Regions from separate parts of the Homo sapiens genome. Here all the other regions are linked to region 2. The links are contacts of gene promoters, found by promoter capture Hi-C in human tissues and cell types (Jung and others, 2019). All regions are on one chromosome and are shown on one strand. Each heading gives the region's core, a stretch centred on a gene start or on the middle of the fragment in contact. The rest is flanking DNA. Distances are from core to core; before and after follow the strand shown.

The links. The method cuts DNA at HindIII sites, captures the fragments that hold promoters and counts their contacts. A contact is called where the count stands out against the background at its distance.
Region 1: a contact is called between a fragment that was not itself captured here and the fragment with the promoter of ATAD3A in region 2, in 1 of the 25 tissues and cell types used here (spleen).
Region 3: a fragment that was not itself captured here is called in contact with the fragment with the promoter of ATAD3A in region 2 in 5 of the 25 tissues and cell types used here (aorta, dorsolateral prefrontal cortex, lymphoblastoid cells and 2 more).
Region 4: a contact is called between a fragment that was not itself captured here and the fragment with the promoter of ATAD3A in region 2, in 2 of the 25 tissues and cell types used here (aorta and dorsolateral prefrontal cortex).
Region 5: a fragment that was not itself captured here is called in contact with the fragment with the promoter of ATAD3A in region 2 in 1 of the 25 tissues and cell types used here (lymphoblastoid cells).

The regions. Positions count from the first base shown.
Region 1 is chr1:1,902,364-1,905,063 of GRCh38, forward strand. No RefSeq gene overlaps it. Among named protein-coding and RNA genes, the nearest start is that of CALML6, 12 kb to the right of the region's middle. The HindIII fragment of the contact is 7,236 bases long and covers 1-2,700 here.
Region 2 is chr1:1,510,911-1,513,610 of GRCh38, forward strand. ATAD3A (ATPase family AAA domain containing 3A) reads left to right here and starts at 1,252. Exons shown (of 16, transcript NM_001170535.3): 1 at 1,252-1,563. The coding sequence starts at 1,359. RefSeq lists silencers at 560-759, 1,210-1,369 and an enhancer at 1,000-1,059. The HindIII fragment of the contact is 15,639 bases long and covers 1-2,700 here.
Region 3 is chr1:1,884,271-1,887,124 of GRCh38, forward strand. The region is part of intron 1 of GNB1 (G protein subunit beta 1); the gene reads right to left. Among named protein-coding and RNA genes, the nearest start is that of GNB1, 5.4 kb to the right of the region's middle. The HindIII fragment of the contact is 4,669 bases long and covers 1-2,854 here.
Region 4 is chr1:1,108,336-1,111,035 of GRCh38, forward strand. All of the region lies in intron 1 of C1orf159 (chromosome 1 open reading frame 159), which reads right to left. Among named protein-coding and RNA genes, the nearest start is that of C1orf159, 6.4 kb to the right of the region's middle. The HindIII fragment of the contact is 6,974 bases long and covers 1-2,700 here.
Region 5 is chr1:1,128,312-1,131,011 of GRCh38, forward strand. It overlaps LOC124903819 (a long non-coding RNA gene), which reads right to left and starts at 673. Exons shown (of 2, transcript XR_007065349.1): 1 at 180-673. LOC124903820 (a long non-coding RNA gene) reads left to right here and starts at 373. Exons shown (of 3, transcript XR_007065351.1): 1 at 373-447. The HindIII fragment of the contact is 3,193 bases long and covers 1-2,700 here.

The DNA.
Region 1 (2,700 bases), core at 167-2,666, 390 kb after region 2:
CTGTAATCCCAGCACTTTGGAAGGCCGAGGCGGCCAGATCACAAGGTCAGGAGATCGAGACCATCCTGCCTAACACGGTGAAACCCTGTCTCTACTAAAAATACAAAAAAATTAGCCGGGCATGGTGGCGGGCACCTGTAGTCCCAGCTGCTTGGGAGGCTGAGGCAGGAGAATGGCGTGAACCCGGGAGACGGAGCTTGCAGTGAGCTGAGATCACGCCACTGCACTCTAGCTTGGGCGACAGAGCGAGACTCTGTCTCAAAAAAAAAAAAAAGTGATAAAATACACATAAAATTTATCATTTTAACTATTTTTTATTTTTATTTATTTATTTTTAAATTTTTATTTTTTTGAGATGGCGTCTTGCTCTGTCGCCCAGGCTGGAGTGCAATGGCGTGATCTCGGCTCACTGCAACCTCTGCCTCCCGGGTTCAAGCGATTCTTCTGCCTCAGCCTCCCAAGTAGCTGGGACTACAGGCGCCTGCCACCATACCCAGCTAATTTTTATGCTTTTAATAGAGATGGGGTTTCACCATGTTGGCCAGGATGGTCTCAATCTCTTGACCTTGTGATCCGCCCGCCTTGGCCTCCCAAAGTGCTGGGATTACAGGCGTGAGCCACCATGCTCGGCCTATTTTTTTTCTTTTCTTGGTATGGGGGATCTCACTACGTTGCCCATGCTGGACTCAAACTCCTGGGCCTCCCTAGCAGCTCCGACTACAGGTGCACGCCACTGCACCGGGTGTGCTGTAACCATTTTCGAGTGTACAATGTGTGGCATTTAGCACATTCCCAGTGCTGCGTAGCCGTCAGCACCCCTGCATCAGAACACTTCACTGCCTCCAAGAAAACCCCATGCCCATTAAACAGCCACACCACCCTCCTCCACCCCCCTGGTCCTGGTAACCTCGGTTCCACCTTCTTTTGTGAATCTGGCTGTCGTAGATGCCTCCTGCCAGTGGAACACACAGCCTGTGACCCTTCATGTCTGGCTTCTTCCACCAAGCATAGGTCTCCAGGTTCATCTGCATCACAGCATGTCTCCGTACTTCCTTCCTCTTTACGGCTGAATAATATTCCACTTTATGGATATACCACATTTTACCCATACATTCATGAATGGATATTTGGGTTGTTTCCACCTTTTGGCTTTTTTTTTTTTTTTTTTTTTGAGCCAGAGTCTCGCGCTGTCGCCCAGCCTGGAGTGCAGTGGCGCGATCTTGGTTCACTGCAAGCTTCGCCTCCCGGGTTCACGCCATTCTCCTGCCTCAGCCTCCTGAGTAGCTGGGACTACAGGCGCCCGCCATCATGCCTGGCTAATTTTTTTGTATTTCTTAGTAGAGACAGGGTTTCACCGTGTTAGCCAGGATGGTCTTGATCTCCTGACCTTGTGATCTGCCTGCCTCAGCCTCCCAAAGTGCTGGGATTACAGGTGTGAGCCACTGTGCCTGACCGGCTTTTTTTTTTTTTTTTCTTAAATAGAGACAGAGGCCAAGCACAGGGGCTCAATAGTTGTAATCCCAGCACTTTGGGAGGCCGAGGCGGGTGGATCACCTGAGGTCAGGAGTTTGAGACCAGCCTGGCCAACATGGCGAAACCCTGCCTCTACTAAAAATACAAAAATGGGGGCCAGGTGCGGTGACTCACGCCTGTAATCCCAGCACTTTGGGAGGCCGAGGCGGACAGATCCCCTGAAGTCAGGAATTCAAGACCAGCCTGGCCAACATGGCAGAACCCTGCCTCTACTGAAAATACAAATATTAGCCGGGCATGGTGGCACGCGCCTGTAATCCCAGCTACTCGGGAGGCTGAGGCAGGAGAATCACTCAAACCTGGGAGGCGGAGGTTACAGTGAGCTGAGACTGCGCCACTGCACTGCAGCCTGACGACAGAGCTACAAACACAAAAAATTAGCCACGCATGGTGGCACACACCTATAATCCCAGCTACTTAGGAGGCTGACACAACAGAATCACTTGAACCTAGGAGGCAGAAGTTGCAGTGAGCTGAGACCGCGCCATTACACTCCAGCCTGGGCAACAAGAATGAAACCCGGTCTCAAAATAAATAAATAAATAAATAAATAATATAAAATAAATAAATAATTAGAGACAGGGTCTCGCTCTGTGGTGGGGTTGGAGTGCAGTGATGCAATCATGGCTTGCTGCAGCCTCAACCTCCTTGGCTCAAGTGATCCTCCTGCCTTGGCCTCCCAAGTAGCTGGGAATAGAGGTGCCTGCCACCATGCCTGGCTAATTAAAACAAATTTTTTTTGTAGAGATGGGGTCCCATCCTATTGCCCAGGGTGGTCCTTTAGCTATTATAAACAATGCTGTTATACACATTCCTTTTTTTCCCAAGACAGAGTCTCACTCCATCGCCCAGGCTGGAGTGCAGTGGTGTGATATTGGCTCACTGCAACCTCCGCCTTCCGGGTTCAAGCGATTCTCCTGCCTCAGCCTCCTGAGTAGTTGGGAATACAGGCGTGCCCACCATGCCTGGCTAATTTTTGCACTTTTAGTAGAGATGGGGTTTCACCATGTTGGCCAGGCTGGTCTTGAACTCCTGACCTCAGGTGATCTGCCCCCCCTCAGCGTCCCAAAATGCTGGGATTGCAGGCGTGAGCCACTGTGCTTGGCCACACACATTCTTTTGTTTGAACATCTGTTTTAAATTCTTTGGGACATATACCTAGGACCA
Region 2 (2,700 bases), core at 2-2,501:
AAAGAAGTAGAACTCGAATATAAATTTTTCTCAGCTAGATAATTTACTTCTATAGAAGGGGACATCTCATAGATGGAGCAATGGCGAGCGCTTGGACAAGGGAGGGGAAGGGGTTCTTATTCCTGACGCGGGTAGCCCCTACTGCTGTGTGGTTCCCCTATTGGCTAGGGTTAGAATGCACAGTCTAAACTAGTGCCCATTGGCTATTTTAAAGGGAGCAGGAGTATGGGCCAGAGTGGCGGGGTGAGTGGTTTGGCGGGAAAAATGGTTATGGGACAGGTAACTAAAGGTGACTCAGGTCAAAGCAGGAGACCGGGATTAGTTAGGACGGAGCAGGTGACCAGGGCAACAGATGTCAACTACTGACTAGAACTGGTGGAAAAGGTTGTTTACTGAAACTGCGAGGAAGGTAGACTTTAAAATGCAGGACAAAGACTGAACATACTGATATACTGATTCTTTGAAGGGAAGTTTAGAACTCATTGTATCTAACATTATTCAGGCTTAAAACAGTTTCCAATCCAGTGGGAAAAGTCACTCCATATATTCCGTGAAGTCAACCAGTTCCATCAAGGAGAAAGTCAGGGCCGCTGGGAGCGCGTGGACCGTGGGCTCCGGGGCGGCGCCTGCCCGGGCACCCCGGCCCCGTCCACGCCCCGCAAGAGGAGCTCGCTGGCCCCGCCACGCGGGAAGGGGTCGCCCCGGGGTCTTGGGCGGGAGGGCCGTGCGGGCTGCGGAGACACCGAGGAGGGGAGGCGCCTCTCCTGAGCTCTTGGCGCAGCGACCCCAGGGCGCCGACTCATCGCGGAAGGGCTCGGCTTGCCCGGGCGCCGGTGCCGCCTCGGGTGAGGTTCCCGCGAGACTCTTCTCTGCGTCCTGGACTCACCGCAGGGCGCCCCGCCGCACGGATCGAGAACCTTGGGGCTCCCTGGAAACTTGCCACCCGCTGCCGCCAAGGCCGGAACTCCTCGGAGCCCCTAGCAACGGAGCCCCTAGCAACGGAGCCCACGCGGATGCGGCGCGGGGCTGACGCTGCCTTGGGTTCGCCTACGTCCCTCGGGAATTTTGTCCCGGCGTGGCTCCCGTAGCCAGATGCTTCGCCGCTCCCGCCCCGCTGGCTCCCAAAGCCTGTTCGGCAGTCGCGGCGCCGTCGCTATGGCGTCACTGTCCTCGGGGCCAATCCAAGGGCTGCGCGCGTGTCCCTTACGCGCTTCTATCGCCGGGAGGAAGGGGTGTGTGTGGCGCCTGCGCAGTGGCGGTGACCACCGGCTCGCGGCGCGTGGAGGCTGCTCCCAGCCGCGCGCGAGTCAGACTCGGGTGGGGGTCCCGGCGGCGGTAGCGGCGGCGGCGGTGCGAGCATGTCGTGGCTCTTCGGCATTAACAAGGGCCCCAAGGGTGAAGGCGCGGGGCCGCCGCCGCCTTTGCCGCCCGCGCAGCCCGGGGCCGAGGGCGGCGGGGACCGCGGGTTGGGAGACCGGCCGGCGCCCAAGGACAAATGGAGCAACTTCGACCCCACCGGCCTGGAGCGCGCCGCCAAGGCGGCGCGCGAGCTGGAGCACTCGCGTGAGTGCGGCGGGGCGGGGCGGCGCGGGCGGGCGGGCGGGACGGGCCGGGGAAGCGGGAGCCCTGGCCCTTGCCGCTCCTCGCCGCTGTCGGCAGCCACTTCCCGGGCGAGACTGCGCCCCCGGAGCACCCCCGGCCGGAGCCGTGTCGCGTGCCGGGAGGATCGGACTCTTTCCGTCACCCGTTTGCACCTCTGCAGCTGTCAGGAGCGGGTCAGGTGCGGAAAGCGGTGCGGAGGTGGCGCTCATAGGTTACAGGGGTCAGGGTCTGGGGCTGGCCGTGGTCTTCAGTTACCGCCGAGCGTGCGGGATCCTTCTGCGCTTGCCGCCTCCACGTGGCACAGGCCAAGGCGTGGCCAGATGGGTAGATGGGTTTGTTGGGTGGTTGCTAGCAGTTTCCACGTAACAAGGGAAGCGTATTTGAGAGTTACTTGATTCTAACGAGACTAGCAGATTTGCACTTCTTGTTGGAAGACGTTAGCATTTGCACGGCGAGGTCTGTGAAGCCACAGGCCAGGCCGTGCTGCTCAGCTTGAGTAAACCCCTGACCCAAGGCCCTCAGGGTGTGAGCACTCACCATGTTGTTCAGGCTGGTCTTGAATTCTGGCCTCAGGTGATTCGCCCACCTCGGCCTCCCAAAGCGCTGGGATGACAGGCGTGAGCCGCTGCTCATGGCCTTCCTCGGTAATTTTAACCATCAGGTTAGGATGGGAATCAAGGGCTGGACTTCAGGGCACCTCGGAGGACAGCGGATGTTGGTGACTGACTTTCTTGCTGCAGGCTTATTTGGAGGGTTCCTTTGTGTCCTAGTTCCTGGGGGTTTTCACCCGCTAACTTCACTTAGAGATTGAAACTTCTCCCACTTCCAGAAGCTGAATCGTAGTGATCAGCCTGCGGCCCCCTGCAGTGGTACAGGCCTGGTTGAGCAGCCTCAGGCCGCCTCCCCATAGTGCAGACCTGTGCCTCTGAGTTGCTCCAGTCCTGGCGGCCCCGGAGCTCCTGACCCGCAGTCCGCTCTGCCGGCGTTGCCAGTGCCTTGGTCTGCCCTCTCTGTGGTGGAGCGGGGCCCGGGGCAGGGTCTCCAGGTGCACCGTGGGGAGCCCTCCATCAGGCTTTTGTTTCCTGTGGATTGTGTTCC
Region 3 (2,854 bases), core at 67-2,566, 370 kb after region 2:
TTGTATTTTTAGTAGAGATGGGGTTTCTCCATGTTGGCCAGGCTGATCCACCCTCCTCGGCCTCCCAAAGTGCTGGAATTACAGGCGTGAGCCACCGCGTCTGGGCTAATTTTGTATTTTCAGTAGAGACAGGGTTTCTCCATGTTGGTCAGGCTGGTCTTGAACTCCCAACCTCAGGTGATCCGCTCACCTTGGCCTCCCAAAGTGTTGGGTTTACAGGCATGAGCCACCACACCCAGCCCAGAATTTTTTAAGCTTTATTAACTACAACACTCGGCAGAAGTTGAGTGTCTGTAATCAACATAGGGAATATATTTTCTAAGTGCTACAGGACTGCACACAGACATGCATGGAGACATGATTACCCACCAGTAAACAAGAATACATTCCACTGATGCCCTTAGTATTCCCATTCTTTTTTTTTTTTTGAGAGACGGAGTCTTGCTCTGTCGCCCAGGCTGGAGTGCAGTGGCGCGATCTCCACTCACTGCGAGGTCTGCCTCCCGGGTTCACACCATTCTCCTGCCTCAGCCTCCCAAGTAGCTGGGACTACAGGTGCCTGCCACCACGCCCGGCTAATTTTTTTGTATTTTTAGCAGAGACAGGGTTTCACTGTGTTAGCCAGGTTGGTCTCGATCTCCTGACATCGTGATCTGCCCGCCTGGGCCTCCCAAAGTGCTGGGATTACAGGCATGAGCCACCGTGCCCGGCCAGTATTCCAATTCTAACAGGTGAATGAATTAATACATAAAGTCCTCTCTTGATATAATGCATTAGTAAGTTTGGAGCAATGAATTATTAAATCATAAAAATATTTTATCTATGGCAAAATAGGTTCAACAGAATAAACTTAAAAATTAAGCTGGGCACGGTGGCTCACACCTGTAATCCCAGCACTTTGGGAGGCGGAGGCGGGCGGATCACTTGAGGTCAGCAGTTTGAGACCAGCCTGGCCAACATGGTGAAACCCCATCTCTACTAAAACTACAAAAATTAGCCAGGCATGGTGGCGGGCACCTGTAATCTCAGCTACTTGGGAGGCTGAGGCAGGAGAATCACTTGAACCCGGGAGGCAGAAGTTGCAGTGAGCCAGGACAGCGCCATTGCACTCCAGCCTGGGCAACAGGAAGGAAACTCCATCTCAAAAAAAAAAGAAAGAAAAAAGGAATTACCTTAGATAATCTTAATCTGGTCTTTTAAATCAGTAAGCTTTTAAAAAATGGGTCTTTCTCAGAATTCTAATTTAAGAAGACATAAATAAGGAAATACTTCCACTTAATCTTTTTTTTTTTTTTTTTTTTTGTGAAACGGAGTCTCGCTCAGTCACCCAGGCTGGAGTGCAGTAGCACGATCTCGGCTCACTGCAAGCTCCGCCTCCCGGGTTCACGCCATTCTCCTGCCTCAGCCTCCCAAGTAGCTGGGACTACAGGCGCCCGCCACCACACCCAGCTAATTTTTTTGGTATTTTTAGTAGCAATGGGGTTTCACCGTGTTAGCCAGGATGGTCTCAATCTCCTGACCTCGTGATCCGCCCACGTCGGCCTCCCAAAGTGCTGGGATTACAGGCGTGAGCCACCGTGCCCGGCCCACTTAATCTTAAAAAAAAAAAAAAGCAAGCAAGCAACATTGCTCTATAAAACAGAAAGCTTTTCTACCACTGAAAGCCAGGAGTAATTTCCACTGATTACCATGGCACCCAATGGTAGGCACTGACACAAGAACAAGAGGCTAAAAGGTTTAAAAAAGCTTTCAGCATTCCGGCAGGGCACGGTGGCTCACGCCTGTAATCCTAGAACTTTGGGAGGCTCAGACAGGCAGATCACCGGAGGTCAGGAGTTCAAGACCAGCCTGGCCAACATGGTGAAACCCCATCTCTACTAAAATAAAATTTTAAAAAATTATCCGGGCATGACGGCGGGTGCCTGTAATCCCAGCTACTCGGGAGGCTGAGACTGGAGAATCACTTGAACCCGTGAGATGGTGGTTGCAGTGAGCCGAGATTGCGCCACTGCACTCCAGACTGGGTGGCTGAGTGGGACTCTGTCTCACAAAAAAAGCTTTCAGCATTCCACTAATCCACTAGCAAACTCAAATGTCTATAGATTGTCTCTATTTCTTCAATCAAAGTTCTAGAACAAAATGCATAGCTTTGAAATAGGTGGTGCTCTGTCCCTCTCCCAGAGCAGCTGATGTGATGTTGCATTTCTCTCTCTTCATACACACTCACTCCCATATACGTTGGCCCTGCTTTTTCTTTCAGTAATGTTGAACACTGCAGTTTCATAAATTTCTGATAGTTTCCATTTTAAATTTATTTTATCTCCTCATTCTGTGTTCCTAAACCAAACACTTAACTGAATTGCCTACTTCATAATCTCTCCAACCACTCTTAACAAATGCAAACCTGAAATCAGAATGTAAACCAGTTTAAAATTTTTTTTATTTTTATTTTTTGAGACGGAGTCTCGCTGTGTCGCCCAGGCTGGAGTGCAGTGGCCGATCTTGGCTCACTGCAAGCTCCCCCTCCCGGGTTCCTGCCATTCTCCTGCCTCAGCCTCCTGAGTAGCTGGGATTACAGGTGCCCAGCACCACGCCCAGCTAATTTTTTGTAGAGAAGTAATTTTAGTAGAGAAGGGGTTTCACCGTGTTAGCCAGGGTGGTCTCGATCTCCTGACCTCATGATCCGCCTGACTCGGCCTCCCAAAGTGCTGGGATTACAGGTGTGAGCCACCACGCCCGGTCAAACCAGTTTAAAATTTTATAAAAATTTTTGTTCCATGTCTTGTGAGACTTACACTAAATAGGGGTTTCAAAATAACATGGCCTGCCATATGGTCAAGCCAGATTTAAAAAT
Region 4 (2,700 bases), core at 200-2,699, 400 kb before region 2:
TCCACCACAGCCACCATGTCTTGGCACTGTTCACCACAGCCACCATGTCTCGGCACCGTTCACCACAGCCACCATGTCTCAGCAGCACCGTCCACCACAGCCACCATGTCTCGACACCGTTCACCACAGCCACCATGTCTCAGCAGCACCGTCCACCACAGCCACCATGTCTCGGCAGCACCGTCCACCACAGCCACCATGTCTCGGCACCATTCACCACAGCCACCATGTCTCGGCACCGTCCACCACAGCCACCATGTCTCGGCACCGTTCACCACAGCCACCATGTCTCAGCAGCACCGTCCACCACAGCCACCATGTCTCGGCAGCACCGTTCACCACAGCCACCATGTCTCAGCACCATCCACCACGGCCACCATGTCTCAGCAGCACCGTCCACCACAGCCACCATGTCTCGGCAGCACCGTTCACCACAGCCACCATGTCTCGGCACCGTTCACCACAGCCACCATGTCTGCAGCAGCATTGTTCACCACAGCCACCATGTCTCGGCACCATCCACCACGGCCACCATGTCTCAGCAGCACCGTCCACCACAGCCACCATGTCTCGGCAGCACCGTCCACCACAGCCACCATGTCTCGGCAGCACCGTTCACCACAGCCACCATGTCTCAGCACCATCCACCACGGCCACCATGTCTCAGCAGCACCGTCCACCACAGCCACCATGTCTCGGCAGCACCGTTCACCACAGCCACCATGTCTCGGCACCGTTCACCACAGCCACCATGTCTGCAGCAGCATTGTTCACCACAGCCAAAAGGTGGGAGCAAGTGTCCACCCACAGATGAATGGATAAACAAAAGGTGGTCTATACAGACCGTGGAATATTCTACAGTCCTGAAAAGAAATTTTGGACGCATGCTACAACAGGAATGAACCTTGAAAACACTATGCTAAGTGAAAGCAGCTCATCACAACAGGACAAATACTGTATGATTCTACTCATGAGGTTCCCAGGGTTGTCGAATTCATAGAGACAGAAAAGACAACGGTGGTTGCCAGGGGCTGGGGGGCAGGGAGGAATGGGGAGTTAGTGTTTAATGGGAACAGTTTCCTTTCCTTTTTCCTTTCCTCTTTTCTCCTTTCTTTCCTTTCCTCCTTTTTAAAATTTCTTTCTTTCTTTTAGAGATGGGTTTGCTCTGTTGCCCAGGCTGGAGTGCAGTGGTGCAATCATAGCTCACCGCCATCTTGAACTCCTGGGCTCAAGCAACTCTCCCGCCTCAGCCTCCCAAGTAGCTAGGACTACATGCCTGCCACCATATCTGGCTAATTTTATTTTTATTTTTTGGTAAAAAGGGTGTCTTGCTGTGTTTCGCAGGCTGGTCTTGAACTCCTGGGCTCAAGCGCTCCTCTCTCCTGTCTTAATGCATGTGTACTAGATAAACATGCATGTAACGCAGGACCCATGTTCACTGAGAGGTGAGATTTCACATTTACATGTAAGACAATTAGGCCCTATATGGCCAAAGGTGAGGCGCGGCCCGGGAGTCACTCCAGTCACATCCTCCATAGACCAGCAGAACCAGTCCGTGGCCAGTGGTGTCTTATCAGGAGGAAGTTATGGAAAGTGACGCTGTAGTTATGGCCGTGAAATGGGGGGTCAGTTAGTGCCTGGCAGCGAGCCATCACTGTTTCCATACCGCTTGTCTCAGGCCAGTGCCTGCTTAACTGCTAGAGGAAAAGAAAACCCAAGCCTTATTCTTTAACTGTAAGGGTGTGTGACTTAACCCCGGCCTGGCACGGCCTTAGGTCCTGATTATAACTCGGCGTCTTATTGCCGCAGAGTCTGTCAGTCTCGTGATCTCCACTTTAACACTAATGTTGGTCAGTTGTGTCTAAACTGAAAAAGGGTGGCAGTATAACCAGGTGTGTCCAACCTCCCATCCTTTTATGGCCGGAAACTCAATTTTTAAGGTTTCTCTGGGGTCCCCTTGACCAAGAGGGAGCTCGTTCAGTCGGCGGGGGACTTAGGATTTTATTCTTAGTTTACAACATCAGTAATAAAATTAATAGGCAAATCAAAGAATGGGAGATAGTCACAGTACACGTACCAGACAAAAGCCCTGAATATGGAATATATAAAGGACTTTCACAATCTGGTCATCAAAAAAATGGGCAAAAGACATCCTCGGACACTCAGAAAACGTGTGCGAATGGCAACAGATGAGTGGACAGTGCTCAACACGGGTGAGCGTCAGGGAAATGCAAACTAAAGCCTCCACGACCAAACGGCACTCAGCCTCTCGGCTGTGGGGACACACAGAACCGCTGGGACTTCCACACCTGGGATGCAGCCTTCCCCCCGGGCACGTTCCCAAGAGAAACAACACACGCCCGCCAAACACGTGCACAAAAATAGGCCCAACTCTTCAGACAGCGGAAACCCACCCGGGCGCCCTCAGAGACGACGAGCACGCAACAGCGCATCCCACACCCACTCCTTGTGCAGCACCTCAGAGGAAGCTCAACAACAGTTCTCTGCGTGAGCCGTGGCAGACGCAAAACCGCCCGCACGTGTGACTCCTAACACTCAGAGTGTCGGTAAAATCACAGCAGCGCTCCTGTCTGGCGCGGCAGGCGGGCGCTGGAGCAGCCTGCGAGGCAATCTCCATGGATCACAGGCAGATTCTACATCACGACAGGAGTCTGGTGAATCCTTTGTCAAAACAATTGA
Region 5 (2,700 bases), core at 109-2,608, 380 kb before region 2:
GGAGTTGGTGCCCCCCCCAGATGCCCGCGGCTTCTCCCACATGGGGAGCTGTCCATCTGTGAGGTCAGACCTGGGCTGCGGGCTTGGCCACCGCTGGATGCCAGCCAGACCTGCCCCTCTGACTTTTCTTGCTCTTTTCTCTCTGCTTTTCCGAGGCCGGCTTTCCGCGAGGCACTTACTTGAAAATGGAGCCCCGGCATTCCTGCATGCACGGACACTAAATCCAAGGCCAGCTCCTCTCTCAGAGCAGAAGTTAAAAATTATTCAATGCCAAATTCCTGGGCTGTGGAGCAGTAGTGGTTGTACCAGGCAAAGGTTCCCGCCGCCTTCCGCCGGCCGGGCAGAGATAAGACCATGAGGGCGCCCGGGGGAGTCCGCGCCTGGCCCACACTGCCCTCCGCCGTCCTGGGACCAGGCCCACACCGCCCTCCGCCCTCCCAGGACCAGGTAGGACTGAGGCTCTGTGGGTCTGACCCACAGCGTCTGGGAGGTTTTGTCTCAAGGGCTGGTGGCTTCTGATGAGCCGAAAGCCCCCGCACCCACGGCCCCACAAAGCTTTTCTTCCGGGACCAGCCCCTCCCCAGTCGCCTGGCCAAGGCCCAGCCCTTAGGGGCCTCCATGGTGTGCTGGGGAGGACCTGGGGGTCCCGCTGGTGAGCCCAGGGCACAGTTGTGGCAGGCGGAGCCCGCGGGGAGGGCAAGGCCTCAGAAGAGGAGGGATTCAGCCGGAGGGCCTTCCCCAGGGCTGGCGGCTTCTGCTATTGGCTGGGGGGTGGTGAGGGTCAGCTGGGGCCTGCAGGGCTGTGCTGGCCAGGTGGGCCGGGCCTGGGGTCCCACAGCCTGAGCGGAGATGCCTGGAGGGGGCCACAGGGTGACCATGTGCCCCCCGGGAGAAGCTGGGGTCTTGGGTCCCCGTGATGATTATGGGTGTCTGGGGGTTCCTGTAGGAAAAGATGGCTGCGAAGGCCCCAGAGTTCCTCGGGGCCTGTGAATGACCCAGCCAGGGGGCCCTCAGAGGGGGAGAGAGACTGAGAAGCCATGATTTACATTTCCTGGCAGAGAGCTCTTGCAGGGAAACCAAATTTATTCCAGTTGACAAGGTGCGTGGGCATTGGGAACAACGTGGGTGGGGGCACAGCCTCCTCTGTCCCGGCCGAAATCCAGTCCTGCAGAGATTTGGAGCACAGAGCATCAGGGCCGCCTGTGAGGCACAGAGCGAATGGGGCACCAGCCTGCCCTCGGCCTCAGACACGGAGAGGCTCCCACGGCACTGAGCCACGCATGGCCACGCGACAGAGGGACAGAATGCCGTGGCCGTGTAGGGGAGCTGCACTCTGCGTGGCCCTGGGATGGGAAAATCCAGGGAAACAGACACTGTTATGGATGTGAGCATCGGCTGCCAGAACGAGAGGAAGCAGAAGAGGGGAAAAGGCCGATTATCGTAGAAGAGTTAGGAAAATCAATCAAAGATACCCCCTTGAGAACAGTTAAGTTCACAGCTGTGAGTTCTGGAAACCTTTATGTTTTAAAAATGATTCCGAGGACTCAGAGGGTAAAGCTCGCACCAACTTAATTTGTTATTGCCTTTTCTATCAAAGTTATGCTTGTGGCCGGACACAGTGGTTCGCATTTGGGAGGTCAAGGCGGGCGGATCACTTGAGGTCAGGAGTTCGAGACAAGCGTGGTCAGCATGATGAAACCCTGTCTCTACTAAAAATACAAAAAAATTAGCTGGATGTGGTGGCGGGCACCTATAATTCCAGCTACTCTGGAGGCTGAGGCAGGACAATCGCTTGCACCTGGAAGGCGGAGGTTGCAGTGAGCTCAGATGGCACCATTGCCCTCCAGCCTGGGCAACAGAGTGAGACTCTGTCTCAAAAAAAAAAAAAAAAAAAAAAAAAAAAAACCAGTTATGCCTGTAGGTTGCTTGAGAGTCAAACACTTCTGCAAGGCTTGGACACATATGATCTTCAGGCCGCGCCGAGGCCACCAGCTCCGTGTGCTGGGAGGCTCCTGTGTTTACTTCCAACGTCACTGGCAAACGGCAGCTTCTCAGCACTCCAGCTTCAGGGTCAGCCCTGAATCTGCCCTGTGGAAGGGGCTGTTTGCCGCCCTCCCACCTCTCGTCCCGCCGTCACGCGCCGCGCCTGGTCTCTGCTGTCACTCTGCTGGGCGCCGGGGACTAGCTTGGTGCCAGGTCCACCGTGGCCGCCTGTTCTCACCCGAACTCTGAGCTGTTTCCCTGAAGTTAATAATCGCCTTTGCTTTTCTTCTTGCTTAGCTTTCTCTGAACTCATTACTAATTCAGCCTCAGACTCTCCCCCATGACTTAAATTCCGGCACGCCAGGTATTTCTGAGGGGCCTCCGGGAGCCTCCTGCCCTGCCCGGGGCTGGTCGGCTCCCTCGGGCCTGGGGCAGGGCTGGCGTCTTGCAGGCTTCGTGGTCCGTGTCACAAAGGTCCCATTGCTTCTCCCCTGGGTGGGATTTTCCCGGGCCCCACACCTCCCCTTTCTTGTCTTCTCAGTGTTTTGGTGGAACAAGCCCCTCGCAGCTCCCCGTGAGGTGCAGGGGGTGGGCCCCCACCACGCCCACAGCTGCAGCTGCCTGTGAAGGGCACAGGGCGGGCCCCCACCAAGGCCTTCGCTTCCCTGCGAGTTGAGAAAACCTCGCCGCAGGGTCCCCGGCTCCCGAGGCTGCTGT